Linked DNA regions of Homo sapiens: all the other regions are linked to region 3. Evidence: promoter capture Hi-C in 16 types of primary human blood cells and fetal thymus (Javierre and others, 2016). All regions are on one chromosome and are shown on one strand. Each heading gives the region's core, a stretch centred on a gene start or on the middle of the fragment in contact. The rest is flanking DNA. Distances are from core to core; before and after follow the strand shown.

What was found. The method cuts DNA at HindIII sites, captures the fragments that hold promoters and counts their contacts. A CHiCAGO score of 5 or more calls a contact.
Region 1: a contact is called between the fragment with the promoter of VHL here and the fragment with the promoter of LINC00852 in region 3, in 4 of 17 cell types (activated CD4 T cells, non-activated CD4 T cells, naive CD4 T cells and 1 more). The highest score is 9.1, in activated CD4 T cells.
Region 2: a fragment that was not itself captured here is called in contact with the fragment with the promoter of LINC00852 in region 3 in 3 of 17 cell types (activated CD4 T cells, megakaryocytes and naive CD8 T cells); the score reaches 6.2 in activated CD4 T cells.

Annotation. Positions count from the first base shown.
Region 1 is chr3:10,140,328-10,143,027 of GRCh38, reverse strand. It overlaps VHL (von Hippel-Lindau tumor suppressor), which reads right to left and starts at 1,250. Exons shown (of 3, transcript NM_000551.4): 1 at 841-1,250. The coding sequence starts at 1,180. It also overlaps the pseudogene LOC124906359. RefSeq lists an enhancer at 1-333. The HindIII fragment of the contact is 16,438 bases long and covers 1-2,700 here.
Region 2 is chr3:10,069,276-10,071,975 of GRCh38, reverse strand. All of the region lies in intron 26 of FANCD2 (FA complementation group D2), which reads right to left. Among named protein-coding and RNA genes, the nearest start is that of FANCD2OS, 38 kb to the left of the region's middle. RefSeq lists an enhancer at 789-1,753. The HindIII fragment of the contact is 4,595 bases long and covers 1-2,700 here.
Region 3 is chr3:10,283,151-10,285,970 of GRCh38, reverse strand. LINC00852 (long intergenic non-protein coding RNA 852) reads right to left here and starts at 1,552. Exons shown (of 1, transcript NR_026829.1): 1 at 225-1,552. GHRL (ghrelin and obestatin prepropeptide) reads left to right here. Exons shown (of 6, transcript NM_016362.5): 6 at 77-305. The coding sequence ends at 96. It overlaps GHRLOS (ghrelin opposite strand/antisense RNA), which reads right to left. Exons shown (of 6, transcript NR_073568.1): 2 at 2,368-2,450; 3 at 118-223. The HindIII fragment of the contact is 4,911 bases long and covers 1-2,820 here.

The DNA.
Region 1 (2,700 bases), core at 1-2,500, 140 kb after region 3:
TCTTACCTAGGGTTGGCTAGTTCCTACTCCATCCTGCTCTCTTCCTTCTCCGGGAAGTGCTCCTTAACTGAAACCACACAACCGCAACCCCTCCATCTCCCAGCAGGCAGGTAAGTCAATTTCCCACGCCACACACGGTCGGCTCTTCCGGCGCCAACATGACCCTGGCTTGTTCCTGTCTTTGCATCTGTCAGTCTCCCCAGGAGGAATGTGTTCTCCACGAGGGCAGGGACTACGCAGAACTGGCCCACTGGAGTCATGAGGACTGAACAGATGGGGTGTTAAGGATGCAGCTTTTCTTTGAGGGGAAAATACACGTGGGGTGGGGGACTGGGGGGAGCCACCTTCAAATGCAAACTATTCGGCCTTATAAAGAATGCTCTGGGCCGGGCGCGGAGGCTCATGCCCATAAGCCCAGCACTTTGGGAGGCCGAGGCGGGCGGATCACGAGGTCAGCAGTTCGAGACCAGCCTGACCAACATGGTGAAACCCCGTCTCTACTAAAAATATAAAAATCAGCCGGGCGCGGTGGCGCACGCCTGTAATCCCAGCTACTCAGGAGGCTGAGGCAGGAGAATCGCTTGAACCCGGGAGGCGGAGGCTGCAGTGAGTCGAGATCGCGCCACTGCACTCCAGCCTGGGCGACAGAGCGAGACTCCGTCTCAGAAAAAAAAAAAAAAAAAAAAGAATGCTCTGACGCTTACGAGCAGCGTCACCCTGGATGTGTCCTGCCTCAAGGGGCCTCAGTTCCCCGTCTGCAAAATGGACCCCGGGGCGGTAGAGGGGCTTCAGACCGTGCTATCGTCCCTGCTGGGTCGGGCCTAAGCGCCGGGCCCGTACCTCGGTAGCTGTGGATGCGGCGGCCCGTGCCAGGCGGCAGCGTTGGGTAGGGCTGCGGCTCGCCGTCGAAGTTGAGCCATACGGGCAGCACGACGCGCGGACTGCGATTGCAGAAGATGACCTGGGAGGGCTCGCGCGAGTTCACCGAGCGCAGCACGGGCCGCGGCCGCCCGGCCTCCATCTCCTCCTCGGCGCCCAGTTCCTCCGGGCCGGACTCTTCCGGGCCGGACTCCTCGGCGCCCGACTCCTCCCCGCCGTCTTCTTCAGGGCCGTACTCTTCGACGCCTGCCTCCTCCGCGCCTACCTCGGCCTCGTCCCAGTTCTCCGCCCTCCGGGGCATTCCCTCCGCGATCCAGACCACCCGGGCCGGACGCCGCGGGATCCGCGGGTCGGACGCGGGGCGGAGCTGCGTGCGCGCTCCCGAGTCGACCTCCGTAGTCTTCGCGCGCGCTCGGTAGAGGATGGAACGCGCTCGCGGAAATAGCCGGCCGGAGGCTGTGCGCGTGCGCAGAAGGATCCTCCAGCACCGTAGGCCGTTGTAACGGAGGCGAGGCTAGGCCAACTCGTTACTGTATTTCCACTATAAAATTTTTTTTCGCCCCTCTAAGGTTTGGTGTTTTTTTTTTTTTTGAGACAGGGTCTCACTCTGTCGCCCGGGCTGGAGTGCAGTGGCGCGAGCTTGGCTCACTGCAGCCTTGACCTCCCTGGCTCAAGCGATCGTCTCGCCTCAGCCTCCCGAGTAGTTGGTACTGTAGGCGCGCACCACCATGCCCGACTAATTATTTTTATTTGTTGTTTGAAACGGAGTCTCGCTATGTTGCCTAGGCTGGTCTCGAACTCCTGGGTTCAAGTGATCCTCCTGCCTTGGCCTCTCAAAGTGCAGGGATTACAGGCCTTAGCCACTGTGCCTGGTGGACTAACTGAATTTTTTTTTTCTTCATGTCAGACGCGCAATGTGCCGACGTCGTAACAAGGTTCGAGGGTGGCGCATCTCACACGGGAACACCCAATCATCACGCTTATAAAGTACAAAAAGTCAACTAACTGAATTCTTACAAGGCATGGGTGATTAGTAAAGAGGGAAAAATAATTAGACCTACTATGTGCAGAGCACTCTGGTGGAAATTGGAAAATCAGATATTTACTTCAGAGCAATTAAAACTACAAACATAAACACTCATTAACTTTGTTCATTTTACAAATATTTATTAAGGCCCTACTATGTACCACCTATGGTGATAAGTGTTGAAAATATTGTAAAAACCGGTCATGTTTCCTGCCTTCACTGCACTTCAATAAAAGCGTCATACGGTAATCAATCACACAAATAAAATAGCAACTATGGCCGGGTGCAGTGGCTCATGCCTGTAATCCCAGTACTTTGGGAGGCTGAAGTGGGCTGATCACAAGGTCAGGAGTTCTAGACCAGCCTGACAACATGGTGAAACCTCGTCTCTACTAAAAATACAAAAATTAGCCTGGCGTGGTGGTGCGCGCATGTAATCCCAGCTACTTAGGAGGCTGAGGCAGGAGAATTGCTTGAACCCGGGAGGCGGAGGTTGCAGTGAGCTGAGATTGTGCTACTGCACTGCAGCCTGGGTGACAGAATGAGACTCTGTCTCAAAAAAAAAAAAAAAAAAAGTGCAACTGTGACTAGTACGACAAAAAGAGACAGGGTACTATAGAAGGCTAAAGATCTGGGGGTCAAGGAAGATGGTACACAATTCTGTGTAATTAAATGTTCAATGATGTGGGATGGACTCAAGTGGAGAAGCAGCTCAGAAAAAGAAGGGTTCAGAGAGTTTTATATTAGTTAAAAATAATTTTTTTTTAGACAGTCTCGCTTTATCACCCAGGCTG
Region 2 (2,700 bases), core at 3-2,502, 210 kb after region 3:
CAAGCCCGGCCAACACGGTGAAACCCCATCTGCACCAAAAGTACAAAAATTAGCTGGGTGTGGTGGTGCACACTTCTAGTCCCGGCTACTCAGGAGGCTGAGGCAGGAGAATTGCTTGAACCCAGGAGGCAGAGGTCGCAGTAAGCCGAGACTGTGCCACTGCACTCCAGCCTGGGTGACAGAGCGAGACTCCATCTCAAAAATACAAAAACAACTAGATCTTATTCATTCTATCTAATTATATTTTTGAAGCTATTAACCACCCTCATTTTTCCCAGTCCCCCAACCACCATTACCCTCCCCAGCCTCTGGTAACCATACTTCTACTCTATCTCCATGAGTTAAATTATTTTAATTTTCAGCTCCCACAAATATGTGAAAATATGTTGTGCCTGGCCTATTTCACTTAACATAATGTCCTCCAGTTCCATCTGTATTGTTGCAAACAACAGGATCTCATTGTTTTTTATGGCTGAATAGTACTCCATTGTGTATACGGACCACATTTTATCCATTCACCCGCTGATGGACACTTAGGTTGCTTCCAAATCTTGACTATTGTGAATAGTGCTGCAATAAACATGGGAGTGCAGATATCTCCTTGGTATACTGATTTCCTTTCTTTTGGGTATATACCTACCAGTGGCATTCCTGGATCATATGGTGATTCTATTTTTAGTTTTTTGAGGAAACTCCAAACTGTTCTCCATAGTGCTTGTACTAATTGACATTCCCACCAACAGTGTACAAAGGTTCTCTTTTCTCCATATTCTCACCAGCATCTGTTATTGCCTGTCCTTTGGATAAAAGCCATCTTTTTTTTTTTTTCTTTTTTTCTTTTTTTTTTTTTATCGATCATTCTTGGGTGTTTCTCGCAGAGGGGGATTTGGCAGGGTCATAGGACAATAGTGGAGGGAAGGTCGGCAGATAAACAAGTGAACAAAGGTCTCTGGTTTTCCTAGGCAGAGGACCCTGCGGCCTTCCGCAGTGTTTGTGTCCCTGGGTACTTGAGATTAGGGAGTGGTGATGATTCTTAACAAGCATGCTGCCTTCAAGCATCTGTTTAACAAAGCACATCTTGCACCGCCCTTAATCCATTTAACCCTGAGTGGACACAGCACATGTTTCAGAGAGCACAGGGTTGGGGGTAAGGTCACCGATCAACAGGATCCCAAGGCAGAAGAATTTATCTTAGTACAGAACAAAATGAAAAGTCTCCCATGTCTACTTCTTTCTACACAGACACGGCAACCATCCGATTTCTCAATCTTTTCCCCACCTTTCCCCCCTTTCTATTCCACAAAACCGCCATTGTCATCCCGGCCTGTTCTCAATGAGCTGTTGGGTACACCTCCCAGACGGGGTGGTGGCCGGGCAGAGGGGCTCCTCACTTCCCAGTAGGGGCGGCCGGGCAGAGGCGCCCCTCACCTCCCGGACGGGGCGGCTGGCCGGACAGGGGGCTGACCCCCCCCACCTCCCTCCCGGACCGGGAGGCTGGCCCGGCAGAGGAGCTCCTCACTTCCCAGTAGGGGCGGCTGGGCAGAGGCGCCCCTCACCTCCCGGACGGGGCAGCTGGCCGGGCGGGGGGCTGACCCCCTGACCTCCCTCCCGGACGGGGCGGCTGGCCTGGCGGGGCCTGACCCCCACCTCCCTCCCGGACGGGGTGGCTGCCGGGCGGAGACGCTCCTCACTTCCCAGACAGGGTGGCTGCCGGGCGGAGGGACTCCTCACTTCTCAGATGGGGCGGCTGCCGGGCAGAGGGGCTCCTCACTTCTCAGACGGGGCGGTTGCCGGGCGGAGGGTCTCCTCACTTCTCATACGGGGCAGCCGGGCAGAGACGCTCCTCACCTCCCAGACGGGGTCGCGGCCGGGCAGAGGCGCTCCTCACATCCCAGACGGGGCGGTGGGGCAGAGGCGCTCCCCACATCTCAGACGATGGGTGGCCGGGCAGAGACGCTCCTCACTTCCTAGATGGGATGGCGGCCGGGCAGAGACGCTCCTCACTTTCCAGACTGGGCAGCCTGGCAGAGAGGCTCCTCACATCCCAGACGATGGGCGGCCAGGCAGAGACGCTCCTCACTTCCCAGACGGGGTGGCGGCCGGGCAGAGGCTGCAATCTCGGCACTTTGGGAGGCCAAGGCAGGTGGCTGGGAGGTGGAGGTTGTAGCGAGCCGAGATCACGCTACTGCACTCCAGCCTGGGCACCATTGAGCACTGAGTGAACCAGACTCCGTCTGCAATCCCGGCACCTCGGGAGGCTGAGGCTAGCGGATCACTCGCGGTTAGGAGCTGGAGACCGGCCCGGCCAACACAGCGAAACCCCGTCTCCACCAAAAAAGTACGAAAACCAGTCAGGCGTGGCGGCGCGCGCCTGCAATCGCAGGCACTCGGCAGGCTGAGGCAGGAGAATCAGGCAGGGAGGTTGCAGTGAGCCGAGATGGCAGCAGTACAGTCCAGCTTTGGCTCGGCATCAGAGGGAGACGGGAGAGGGGGAGGGGGAGGGGGAGGGGGAGAGGCATCTTAACTAGGGTGAGATGACATCACATGGCAGTTTTGATTTGCATTTCTCTGAGGCTCAGTGATGTTGAGCACCTTTTCACATATCCACTATTTGTATGTCTTCTTTTGAGAAATGTCTATTCAGACCTTTTACCCATTTTTCAATCCGAATAATTTTTTTTCCTATCTTTATATATTCCA
Region 3 (2,820 bases), core at 303-2,802:
CAATCTCACCACCGTGGAAGAAAAGCACTAGCAGGACGGTGCACCCAGCATTCTTACTCAACCTCTTGCTTTCCAGAGGCCCCAGCCGACAAGTGATCGCCCACAAGCCTTACTCACCTCTCTCTAAGTTTAGAAGCGCTCATCTGGCTTTTCGCTTGCTTCTGCAGCAACTCCCACGACTGTTGTACAAGCTCAGGAGGCGAATAAATGTTCAAACTGTATGCTGATGTTCCAAATGGGAATTTATTTCAAAGAGGAAAAGTTAATATTTTACTTTAAAAAAATCAAAATAATACAAATAAAAATAATTCTTGGTTTATGGTCTGTGGGAAGGGAATAAAAGGACAAGTAGCAAGGCCAATGTGCATGTTTAGAAAACCTAATCACACCAGCTCACTCAAGCAGAGAAGCTACTGCATGTGCATGCATTGTGTGGAATTAAGACTGGGTTTCTTAGAGAAGGAGGAGAGAAAGGGGGAGAGTAGGAGGGAGAGGGGAAAAGGAGGAGGGAGAGGAAGAGAAAGAAGAGATAAAGTGGGACTAAGAGAAAGAGGGAAGAGAGGAAGAACAAAGACACAGTTCCTTTAAACATCAGGGCTTCCTGAGTGCAAGGCTGCATTAACAGCTTATTAACAACCAGCCAGGGCTGTGTGGACAAAGAAACTTCAGGATGACATTATCGAAGCCAACATCCATTCAAGATTGGAGAGGAAGACAGGAATGCCCAAGAGTGAATCTGAAGTTAGACGTTAAGTGAGGTGCCCAATCACGGCTCTTGGGCACTGCTAGACAGCACTGAAAGAGCTGCATTCTCCTTCCTCCCTTCTCCACTACTGAGAAGGCCTGACAAAGCAAATGCCTCACATGGGCAAGGCTGGCCGTCGCCATGGTTCCCTTACTGATACCAGGTGGGATCCCCAAACATTCCCTCAACTCCAGTTCACAGCAGACACGAGCCTTGACTCTTATGTTCCACAACTTAATTCCAGTTACGACACTGGTCTTCCCGGGGGAAGGCCACTCGGTCATGCCCACCTTAGCCTAAACATGTGGACTGACTTGACTGTAGGCAACGGATGGGACACATCGCTAAGGGGAGGGAAAGGCAAAGAACGAGGTGGCCCCAAAGAGCAGCACCACAGACTTGCCAATTCAGCCATCTGAGCGCTTGTGGGAAACATGCAGGAAGCCGTCTGCAGAGACAGTTGGGGTAATGCCCACACTCTGGAAAACCCCTACCACAGAGGGTGCTAGGAGCCGAGCGTCTCCCCAAGTAAAATTCTGGCCGCCACACATGCAGGCACTAACTACTGATCAGGTGCGGCAGGCAGACAGAAACCCAACTGCTCTCCCTCACATAGAAGCTGTGGTCTGTGAATGCCACCGTCATCCAGGGACTCTTAGAAATGTAGAATCTTGGGCAGCACCCCAGCCCTAATCTATCAGGATCTGCATTTTAACAAGATCCCCAGGCTACTTAGTAAACGGCTGATGGGAAATGGCTTAGAATCCCCTTCCCAGGCGTCACAGCACACTGCAGGCCCCCTACTCACCCCTCCACCCTCAGACAGCCATGCCCCTACCTCCCCAGGCACCTGGCACAAGTGGGTACAGAGATCAACACACTTGTCCTGGAACTTAACTGTCTCAGCTCTGTCACTTAGTTGGGATACGACCTTGATTATCACTAACTGCCCACAGCCCTCTTATCAATAGCTACAGAAGAGGAGCAAAGGCCCAATATGGCCAAAGTGGTCAGGAGATGGTTTCTTTTTGAGAAAGCACCACTGATTGGGCTTGGGAGAGGATGGGTACCAGGCTCTGGACAAATGCTGGTCACCTGATGCTTCCCCCACCAAAGACAAGAACTTACTTCTCTCTCAAAGAAATCACAAGCATTATTAACCGCCTGCCTGGGTCATTCAAATAGAAACAGATATTGCGCACCCACTATGGGCTGGGCACTCTCACCTGTGCCAGGCAACAAGGTGTAGTGCAAAGATCTGGGCTTTGGCCTCGGACCTGAATTTGGATACCAGCTCTGTGATCCAGGCCAAGACTGAATTTCTCAGGCTCCTCACATGTAAAATGCCTACCTTGCTGGGTTACTGCCAAGACTGAACATGAGGTCTCACATGAGCTGTAGCTGGCAAAGGGCCCGGCACGTAGCTAAGCATTCAATTACTACAGCAGCCAGCACTCACTGTCACACCCCTGATGTACACCAGGCACCGTGTTAAATGCTCATGCAGATTAATGTGATTTCACTTCATTTTCACAGCAAGCCTACTTATGAGGGAGAAAACTAAAGCTCAGAGAAATTAAGTAACTTTCCTAAAGCACACAGCAAGCACGTGGCCGACTCACAGCCAACGCCACAGGACTCAGGGGCTGCTTTTTCATCCGGTTCCACAGCCTCTCAGCCAGTGCAGCTTCCCTCGCTCTACTGCCTAGGATGAGAGAGGTTTCCATATTCATTCATTTTCCTTCAGAATACACTGGGTGAACTTGGTAGAGGGGTGAGGACAATTTCAAGTCAACAATGGGCAGAAATATAATTTATCAAAGAAAATGGTTGGAGGACACCCTTGAGAAAATGTATTATTTCAAACATGTTCCTGTATCAGCTTTCTTAAACCCACTCCTTTATGGATCGTTTAATGATACCACTGTAACTTGAGGGTCTCTAAAGTGGGGTGTATGTACCCCTAGGGTGAGCGAGCTATTTGCTGGAGAAAAAAATTCTCCTTGTGAAAAAACTTTTACTTTGTGTATAATTAGCATAAGAGCACACGTATTTAAGTTCTCATGCACTTATAG